3 separate regions of the Homo sapiens genome follow, and all the other regions are linked to region 3. Evidence: promoter capture Hi-C in human tissues and cell types (Jung and others, 2019). All regions are on one chromosome and are shown on one strand. The core of a region is centred on a gene start or on the middle of the fragment in contact, and the rest is flanking DNA. Distances in the headings are between cores, read along the strand shown.

What was found. The method cuts DNA at HindIII sites, captures the fragments that hold promoters and counts their contacts. A contact is called where the count stands out against the background at its distance.
Region 1: a contact is called between a fragment that was not itself captured here and the fragment with the promoter of GNG11 in region 3, in 1 of the 25 tissues and cell types used here (H1 embryonic stem cells).
Region 2: a contact is called between a fragment that was not itself captured here and the fragment with the promoter of GNG11 in region 3, in 1 of the 25 tissues and cell types used here (mesendoderm cells).

Annotation. Positions count from the first base shown.
Region 1 is chr7:94,260,890-94,264,776 of GRCh38, forward strand. No RefSeq gene overlaps it. Among named protein-coding and RNA genes, the nearest start is that of COL1A2-AS1, 130 kb to the right of the region's middle. The HindIII fragment of the contact is 7,264 bases long and covers 1-3,887 here.
Region 2 is chr7:94,282,105-94,285,548 of GRCh38, forward strand. The region is part of intron 2 of LOC112267858 (a long non-coding RNA gene); the gene reads right to left. Among named protein-coding and RNA genes, the nearest start is that of COL1A2-AS1, 110 kb to the right of the region's middle. The HindIII fragment of the contact is 3,966 bases long and covers 1-3,255 here.
Region 3 is chr7:93,919,781-93,923,257 of GRCh38, forward strand. GNG11 (G protein subunit gamma 11) reads left to right here and starts at 1,955. Exons shown (of 2, transcript NM_004126.4): 1 at 1,955-2,453. The coding sequence starts at 2,358. All of the region lies in intron 1 of LOC105375402 (a long non-coding RNA gene), which reads right to left. RefSeq lists an enhancer at 1,557-2,192. The HindIII fragment of the contact is 9,220 bases long and covers 1-3,477 here.

The DNA of each region.
Region 1 (3,887 bases), core at 1,331-3,830, 340 kb after region 3:
AAGAAATACATTTGAGACAGGAAGAAGTCTCCAAAGAAGAAATTCATAATCTTCAAGCTAGAGAAAATTTGATTCGCATGAAAGTTAAACTAAAAATAATATTTTTAAAAAACAAGTAAAGTAAATAGGAATGACTAGAGCAACCTTCCTATGTGGTTACACATGAATACATAGGCAAAAATTCGTATTAGGAATTTAATCCGTCTTTGAAAATATAATTGAAACTGAAACTCAAAACTCTATTTGAGTTTCTCACCAAAAGACTTTTAAAATGAATTTCAAAAAGTAATTTTCTAGGCTATTTCTCTCCGTTCCGAACCCATCTTTCTTTACTCAGCTGCGGGAAGCTGTGGTTGGAGATCGGCACAATGCATTTCTCCTCTGCCAGTTGACTTCCTCTTAGCCATAGAAGGCACTAGAGAAGGGAAAGTTACATTTTTCCTGTTGGGTCCAGCCACTTTAGGCAATCTCAGAACCAAGGTCTTCTCCTTCTCCCTAGGGATAAAATCACCAGGCAGGCAGCTCCCCACACTCAAGGAATGAGCCCCAGCTTAACAGAGGCCCTCCTTCAAGCTGCTATGGTGCCAAAACCAGCAACTGCCATCCCCTTCCCAGCATTACAGGGCTCCTTGAGCTTCTGAGGTGTGGCCACAGCTTAGCACTCCTCAGAGGTCTGAGGACCAGCTCCACAAACAACAACCTTCTGCACCAAAAACAACTAGTTATAATAAAGGAAAGGAAAAAAATTATACATCTCCCCATCTTGTCACTCCTTTTTTCTCCTATCTTTTAAAATCCTTCTCTAACTGCTGTTGTTCCCTGGAAGCAGTTGAGAATATGTGCCCATGATGAGATTTTTATTTCAATTTTGAGAAGTATTCCTACTCCCTCAAAACCTCTTGGGAAGTTTCTGTTTTCATATTCAGTCAGAAACCAATGGGACAAAGAAGAAAACCAAACACAATGCAAAAGAGTTAAAGTTTAACTCAAATCCCAGAGCCTAAAGTTCTGTGATATTTTATCCAGATTCTCCACCCAATACATACTTACAAATGCAAATAAGACAAGACCCATCTCAAGAACCAGCATTTTAATGTCGTAGCTGAACAGCTGTTTCTTAACATACCATGTGTTATAAAGAGGTCTCACATATTTTTGCATCTTGTAGAAAACACGTTTTTCTACATCTCTGTAATTACGATGACAAAATACAGTTCTTTGTAGTTTTTTTTTTTTTTTTCCTTACAACAGGTTTTAACACAATGGGTTTCAAATTTGACTTTCTCTTGAGCATGTTCAGAGCACCCAATTCTGGTTTTGGGGGATCTGCAGTCAAGAAGTCAGGTCTGCATACCTAAACAGGAGCATAGCTACGAGCAAAAGGAAGGAATTTAATTAGTATCTGAACAAATTTTTTAAGAACATGGGTCACTAGTTACATCTGTTTATTTAAGCAAAAAATGGAATCTTGTGTGATTAGCTGATGAATTCAAAGCCAGCCTAAAATTGACCTTCTGAAGAGCAATTACTGTTTTCCCTAAAAGTTCTAGACCACCAGTAACATTGCCTAAAACTTCTAGGCCACTGTTTTCCCTAAAACATTAGGCCACCAGGAACACTCAGGACACCCACATGTCCATGAACTTGGAGTTGGTCTCACACAAGGGCACAGGCCAAAAACAATCACAGGAGTTCTTAATCTGATAGGGATGTGACATAGACGATCATGTAGGTAAGCTTATTATTACTAATGGCATTACAATCAACAATATTGTTCCATCCTCACAACAATGCTGAGCTGAGGTTCAGAAGGATTGAGTGACTTTCCAAAAATTCTACATCTAGTGAGTGGCAAGGTTGAGGTGCAGACTCAAATCTGACTCTGAATATTTGGCTCTTTCTATTAAGACTGTGGCACAGCACCCTAAGGATAATTTTATCTACAAAAGAATAAAATTAACTTTGTTTATCTTCACCTTCGTGAATCTTTCTCATTCTTTAAGACTCGGCTCACGTCCTACCTCCTTCAATAAGTCTACTTAATTATACTCAATCCATGTTCTCTCTATCCTCTGACGTCTATACAACATATTCCTTGCCTGGATTGGCAATCATCTTGTCACAGGGATATTGTCACTTCCACAACCAGGTATTACACTTCTTTATAGTTTCTAAAATGCCTAGCATGTAAAGACATAATAAAAAACTCAAAAATGCTTTACTAACTGGCTCATTGATTCGTTGCCGGTTTTATCCAAAATCATTTTAAATGTCTCCTCCCACCTTCAGCCCTTTTTTTTTTAGTAGAGAGAGCCTGGATTTTTTTTGTTTTACCATTTTGGCCTTCTAATTTACCAGTTGGTTTTGCAAGATTCTACCTTGTTTGCATGTGTAGACTTAACCCACAGGTAATATTCAAAAAGTTAGAAATTATTACTTTGAGATACTAACCAATCAGAATGAAGGAGGGTACTAGAGGCCATTTATGGTGTCAAGTTGACAGTTTGTAGGTGAGGCCAAGGAATTTAAGATGGCCAGGATGGCCAGAATGACTAGGAGGTAACTGCTAGTCTAAGGGGGTGTAAGGAAAGTCTTCTCTACTAAATACTTCTCATGAAAGCATTTCAATAGTTTAACAACTGATATGACTGGACTGGTGAAAATTATTCGTTATCAACCTTGGCCTGGCTCCATAATCTTCAAATGCAGCAATTGCCAATAGGAAAAATTAAACAGCTACCAGGCACAGTCTGAAGCAGACTAAATCCCCACTCTTTTGTATGTAGGTTTTTTAAAAACAAATAGGATTCCCATCTCTTCTCCCAGCCTTGTGTAGCTAGGACTTACATACACTTTAGAATTAATTGAACAAAAAACTAGCAGGATTTTGTTTCTAAACTGCAGCTTGAAGTAATTTATTTGAGGATTACCTAATGGCACTTGGCTTTTGAATATTAATATTTATCATTTCCTATGCTTTCATTAATCACACAAACAGTATTATGAATAGTATTTATTTGTACTATACCTTATTTCAAGAAAAATACTTAAGAAAATTCAAAAAAGATATAATGCAGCAAAGTAGAATATATTTGTTATAAGTGAGATGAATCGAATAAAGTTAAATAAGAAAAGATAGAATTAGGAGTGATATTAGTATACAAAATACTTGCTATAAAGTCTGATAAACTTGCAAAATGTGAACTATGTGTATGGCGTGAATCTTTCTAGCAGATAAAATGCAGAGGGAAGCATCTGTTATAAAATACTGAGAATCTGCTAGAAAAAAACAAACCAATTGCTCAAAGAAACCCACTGATTCATTCTCCTGAGACTGCTATCAAAAATGACGCTGTTTGCTTAAAATGGAATTCCACCCAACTATTTTCTTTAATAGAAAATTTGATGTAAAAAACTAATAAACAAAGTGCCTTACTTTTGTGGGTTTTCTACTTAAGTTGAACTTAGTTTATTCAAGCCTCTCTTCTCCCAAAAAGTTCCACAAATGATCCAAACTCTTCTCAGTAAATATCAGTTTTGCAATATTTAATACGAGGCTAAGCAGTCTGAGTAAAATGACCACATTAGAAGTATTTGTTAAATTGTTAAAATCTGAGTAAAATAGACATGAATTTATATAACATGAATTTATATAACATGTCTTGGATACCCTAAAAGAAAACAATAGTCAAAATGTCAAGGACAAGCTCAGACCTTGTAAACATACTGCAGCCTTGACAACCTGAGACCTAGAATCCCATTTTGAACAATTATTATACTAATAGGCCCATTTGATTTGAAATTCAATTTATGTAGCTCTTAATTCTAAGCAACTCCACTATGGGAGAGCCTTTTATACTATACATTTGGGATATGTTCCTTTGTGT
Region 2 (3,444 bases), core at 23-2,522, 360 kb after region 3:
CCTAAAAGAAGCTGTAAAGGTTTTTATAAGCAAGAGGCAGTAACAACCTCAGGACTTCCTGAAAATGACAAGAGGGCTTTTTGAGATAACAGAGTCAGAACTCTGTAAGAGATCAAGTCCTCGCCATGAGGCAGGGGATATTCGGCCAGCATGGCTAAGAAGAGACATCTGGCTGGTTCGTACTGTGCCTCTGTGAGTCCCACATTACACGTTGCTGCTGCCACCCCCTCCCCGCTGTCCCTTCCAGCCACACCATCAGCCACTAGCCATGCCAGCCTCCTACAGAGGGTCATCTGTGCACCTGCCGGTTGGACAGTGCCTAAGTTCCTAGCCTTCATTAAGTCTCTTGCTTTCCTGGAATGAGCTTCTTCCTTGACCCACATGCTCCTCATTTCCTTGCTTTCTTCATGTCTCTGTGCAAATTTCACATCATCAGAGTGGATTTCTCAATCCAAAATAGCACTGCTTCTCCTTTTCTCTCTCATTCCCCCTTACTCTGCTTTACACAGCTTGTTTTTCTTCATAACAATAATCAGTACACGAGCTATTTATGTATCTCTCTATTTACTTATTGTCTGTAATAGAATACAGGTTGAGAATCTCTAATAAAAAAAAAATTTGAAATCCAAAATGCTCCAAAATCCAAAACATTTTGAGCACTAACATGATACCACAGTGGAAAATTCCACACTTGGTCTTATGTGATAAGTTGAAATCAAAATGCAATCCAAACCTTGTTTCATGCACAAATTTATTTTGAAATATTACATAAGATTACTTCCAGGCTCTGTATATAAGGTGCATAAGAAACATAGATGAATTTCGTGTTTAGACTTGGGTCCCATTTCTAAGGCATTTCATTAGGTATATGCAAATATTTTAAAATTCTAAAGAATTTGAAATCCCAAACACTCCTGGTCCCAAGCATTTCAGATAAGGGATACTCAACCTATATAAGCTTGTGGAGGGCAGACCCTGTGCCATTGTTGTGCATCCTCCACATCTGTCTTAGTGCCTTGCACATAGTAGGTGACTGATAAATATGTGCTAAATGAAAAGGAGCAGTCATCCCTTGTTCTTCTATACCTAAGAGCCCAGAATCTGCTGCAAGTGAAGCTTCTCAACAATCAGCATCTTCTACAGTGGAAGGCGGAGGAGAAGCCCTTTCTGGAAGGAAATTCATCTCCTACTTAGACAGTAAACTTAAAATAGGCTCTTCCTGTGCACACCCCACAGATGCTCCTTATAATTCCTCAACTTTCCCCACCAAGCAGTACCTCAGGAGCCTTACTGGCCAAGTGATTTTTGCCAGTATCTTCCATATATCAACCTAAAAAGACGTTTTTCTTGAAGAGAGGAAAAAATTGATATATAGCTTAGCAAGAAGTGGAAATTTTTACTATAGTTGGGTTAAAAGCAAAAAAAAAAAAAAAAAGGAAGCATACCAGCTAACCTCTGTCTATTATACTATGATTTTTCTCAAAGGCAGACACCAAATAGTTCACAAGGGCACCCATAGCGCCAGGCCACTTAGTAGGCTCTAAACATGTCTGTTGAATAACAAACACGGCAGTTGAAGGGATATAATTTATACCCATAAAAAATTAATTAGAGAGAAAGCCCAGTGTAATAGAAGTTTAAAGCCAGAGAGTTTCCACTTTATCAAAGCAAGCCCTTCAAACACAAGTTACACTCAAAGAAATAAGAGTTTGCCAATGCATAAGGCCTGCCTCCTCCAGGAAGCCTTTCCTAACTGCTTCAGTCTAAACTAGATTTCTACTGCTTTCAGAATTGCTGCCACACCTTATATTAGCACTTTTCCAATGCTTTAAAACAAGGACGGCTTCTCTCCAAAACTGTATCACATTTGAGAGTTAGGGCTGTATCAAATACTTCTTCTGCCAGCCCAGCTCCTGAAACCATGCTGGGAAGGCAAATGGTAGAGAGAATATTTTCTAGGCATGCTCTGGTTAATTAACAAACAACCTTTTTCCATTTTCATTTCTCTACTCCATAAGCAACTTAACTATGTTTTTCTATTCTTATTTGCATATTTACTTACAATGTCATCATGTTTCACATGTATATGTTCATTTTGCTTACACAAAATGAAGCTATTTTTCTGCAATCACAAGAATACTGTTAACACCCAGAGCCTAGAATTTCCCATCTGTTAGCAAATCTCACAACAAAGAGCCTTTTTGGAAGCGTAGTTAATCCTTTAAAGAGATGTATTTCACAACTCAACTCTTATCTGATGTCAACAGAAACATATTTTTGCAAAATGTGGCTCAGATGCAAGCGTGCTAAATTACTAGTTTAAAATACAGAAAGATGGAAAGGGTTGTGGGTAAATTTTACAAGGGAGAGTAGTCTAATTATCCAAAGCCTTTGAAACAGCCTTGAACCGCTGACCGTCCCCCATGCCCAGATTTGAAAGAGAAGAGCTTCCAATTAATTAATGCAGTCAACATTTTTCAAGACCCTTCTCTGGGGAAAAGCCTCTGCTGGAAGTTCAGTGAAGGGAGTTCCAGTGGGAAAGATAGAATTGAAAAGAAATAGAAGAATACAAGGAAGATGAATTATCTCTCTTCCTAGATCATTATTTCACTCTTTCTGTTCTCTCCCCAAACCTCTAAGCCTTTTCCCTGTCTCTCACTCTCAGCTGGACTGGCTTTTTACTTCACTCTGGAAAAAAGAAAAAAAAAGCGAGAATTTCCACAACCACTACCACCATTTTTACTACCAAATCTACCAAGATATTAGCATGTGGGCCCACCTACTCTGCATTCCCCACAATTAAAATGGATCAGTGGTCAGTGCTCCTAAGGACAACCCTTTTCTTACCTATTGAAGGACACTGCTGCTGCAGTTGTCCTTTGTCTCATACATGTCATGACATTTTCCATTTCTACTGGGTCAGTCCATCACCATGCAAATGAATTTGGGATCTCCCATTCCTCCAGCCACTAACTGCCTGACTTCTCTACCTCCTTGACACTACAACACTAGAAATAATTATCTATACTTGCTGTCTCTGCTTCCTCTCTTTTCTTTCTCTCCTCTACTCACTCCTGTTGAACTTTTGACCCCACAAATCGACCATTGGTAGAGTCTCCAGTGACCAGCTCATTACCAATCCAAAGATAAATTCTTAGTCTTCATCTTCTTCAGATCATCAGCAACATTGACACAGTTGGGCACAACCTTCCTTCCTGAAACACCTTCTTCATTTATCACTGTCTTTTGGGTCTCCTCCCATCTCACTGATTGCTCTCCTGATCCCCTGTGCTGGCTCTTCTTTGTCTTTCCAGCATTCAAGTGACCCCCTAGTTTAGTCCTCGGATCTCTACTCTTCTCATTCTCCCAGGAGATCTCATTCATCTAATGACTTTAAGGAGCCTTCTAGACATATATTTGACAATTCCCAAATACATACCTTTT
Region 3 (3,477 bases), core at 705-3,204:
TTCTAATACGTCTCATAATACGATGGGAAAAGTTAAAGAACCAATATGGGCTTATAAGTATTTATCCCTCTAAGCAACTAGATGATTTCATGGGAAAGAAACTTCAAAGCCAAAATAATTATATTTTTATGACTTAGAACAAACACACATTAACAAAAAATTAGTCAGGCGTGGTAGCGGGCGCCTGTAGTCCCAGCTCCTCCGGAGGCTCAGGCGGGAGAATGGCGTGAACCCGGGAGGCGGAGCTTGCAGTGAGCGGAGATCGTGCCAGTCACTCCAGCCTGGGCGACAGAGCGAGACTCCGTCTCAAAAAAAAAAAAACAAAAAAACAAAAAAACAAAAAAAAGAACAAAAACACAATAATTTATTTAACCAATTTATTTAACTTAGGTGCTGAACCTATTTAATTTAGGCCACATTCACGTTGATTACTTTCACTAATTTAAGGTATTTTTGACCAACCTTTTAAATTTAAGTAATAGAAAATTTTAAAAATGAATTAGTGCACAAGACAGATATGGACATTTGTCTAGTCTCCCTGCTTATTTACAAGTAAACTTCAGTAGATGCTCTAACTACTCTGAGCTTGGAAAACCCTGGTATTTCAAATATTGAAAGTGAAGCTCTTAAACATTTTCTTTGTGAAAATGATTTATCATATATAGACATACCAACACAATTAGAGACACAACATAGCTTAGCTGATTCACTACTTCCCTGCCTTACTATACATTTTACAAATTAGAAAACCAAAACTAAGAAAAATTAAATGACTTCTTCAGTGATGGCCTGTGGCAGAGCTGCAACTACACGCCAGGAGTATTCATTAAGTGGTTCATTGTTTTTTTCATTCTAATTTATTCATTGAGGTTGAGCGGAGCGTGGTAAGAAACTAGGAACGAACAAAAACTCCTGCTTCCTAAACAGGGAATGGTCATGGGTGTCTTGGGTCAGCTACTCTGAAATATTAAGTTAATATTTCACTTGCCTTTGACTCTGTGAGGCAGGAGGTTATCTCTGGAAAGAAAGAGAAATATCCAACTGCTAGGGAAGGTTTCTTACATTCATGTTTGATTTTTCTTCTACTCTTTTGACCACCATCAACAAGACTTTAGTTACAGTTAAAGGGAAAGTTTTATTGCATGTAAACTTTTTTCACATCGGACACTTTTCCTGGCTTTCCAGAGCAACAGCTAGATAAATAGTGCTTGCCAGAAAGTGGAGAAACTAATACTAAATGAATCCACTGCCTACATCCAGGAAGGTTCAGGAGCCAGGAATTCAAAATCCTTGGTGTCAAGTGTCACCCAAAACTTAGGGTTGGGGAGTGGAGAAAGGCTTTCGGTTAAGAACTCTAAGATTCCTGCTTCTGTCTTCTCTTATATCATCCTTTGATGCACCCCTCTACATAACATTCCCCCGGAAAAATAAAAAAAATACAAACTCTGCTGCTGTTGAGGATGCAGATGATTATTTAATAATAGAAAATGTTCTTGCAACTTGTAAACGATATTCACACCCTGTTGCCCCCTCCTCGCCCAAAATGTATAAACCCATATTAGGCCTCGAACAAGCCGGATGGACACAAATGAGCAGAACACTGGTGGGTATTTCTGGGATTAGGGCTAAGCTTCATTTTCTTTTCAGCCTTTTCTTAAGCGTCCGCATTCTCCACTATGCATTTATTACGTTGGTGCAAAACTAATTGCACCAACCTATATATGTAATTAGAGAAAAGTAATTACTTTTGCAACAACCTATGTATGTAATTAGGGAAAAGCTATATCTAGCATATTTTTAAAACTCTTTGAGAGGTGAAGGGTAGTTATTTCCTGCTGGGTAGTGTACTCCTTTTCCTAGCTTCACAAACAAAACCCGGATGTGACTTGGAAACGGAAAAAAAAAAAGGAGCGGGGGTGCGCGGAGAACACAAAGTAAAACTTCTGCTGTTCCCAGTCCTGCAGCCCCAGCCCAGCCGTCCCCCGCGGGCGTGGCAGGTCCTGAGTCAGGGCCTGTCCGTGGCCAGCATCCCTGCTGGGCGATTGAGCAGCGGGAAGCTGCTTGGACCCAGTCTCAAACTTAACCCTCATCTAGCACCCGGGCAGGCCTCCTGGGTTGCAGGGACTTGAGAAAAGGCAGAGTTCTCAGGTCCTAGGAAGCTGGGGCACGCTGGCGTGACAAGCGTCCCGGAGAAAGCCAAGCCCTCGGGGAGCTGGGGACCGCAGCAGGGCTGCAGTCACATCCTGCGCGGGTGGGCGGCGGGCCAGGCCTTCAGTTGTTTCGGGACGCGCCGAGCTTCGCCGCTCTTCCAGCGGCTCCGCTGCCAGAGCTAGCCCGAGCCCGGTTCTGGGGCGAAAATGCCTGCCCTTCACATCGAAGATTTGCCAGAGAAGGAAAAACTGAAAATGGAAGTTGAGCAGCTTCGCAAAGAAGTGAAGTTGCAGAGACAACAAGTAAGTTGGCTGTTCCGGAATATTTCCTTCTCTGAAATGAAGCAGGGTCCGATTTTTCCTGCTTAGTAACAGTAAAGCAAATAGTTTAGCTTATTTTTCCCCCTTTTTGTAGCTTCTCTTCTCACCACCCTTTGGCAGTGCCTGGGGACTGCCAGCTGATGTGGGGAAATCCTAGGAGGTAGAGGAGGGAGCAAGGATCTGATAAGTAATTTAAGGCCAAATGTCCTAACTTTTAAGATGCCTAGGAAGGGGAAAATAGACAAGAAATCTTGCTTTCCATTAGACAGCTGTTTTTCAAAACTCACTTGTAGGAAAAAAGCGGATAGCTACTTGGTTCTTTGATCTTTTACACTACTAGAAAGGATGATATTTGAAAGAAATTTTCTAAAACCGTATTTTAAAGTCTTACAAGTACATTATTTAATTTTGAATTTCACCAGTGGCCTTCAGTGATATGCAAAGAACAGTCCACCGAAATTTGGGAACAAAATATTAGAATTTCTATATTTATTTGTAAATCTCATCCCTTTATAATTTTCACTTTATGTTTTATTAGTATGCGATTAATACAGTAGTATCTGTACTTATTTATAAATAATTATACATACACTGTGGTGCATATGAAAAATTTTTTTAGTGATCACAATTTTAAAGTTTTAGAGACTATTGATAGAGATTACCATTTCATTGAGAACATATGACCCAGTATTCAATATTCTCCACTGAAACGTCTCGGGAGTTTTATAAGTTTTACTTCAATTTCTTACTGGTCATCAAGACCTTCCTTCAGACACTAATCCCTCTTCCTGTTTTAACTCAATCAGGCATCCTGTAGACTAGGAAAGGTCTTTGAATAGATATTGTTTAAAGATAATTAACCTTTCCTCTTCAGCAAGAAAATTTTGAACTGATCTTATTTATTATGGTTTAGCACTAGAAAAAATTAAGAAAAACAATGGAAATGAAGCGTTATAATATGCTCACTTGCCTTCCTGTTCTAGTTATAATAAATCTGTTAAGGGCA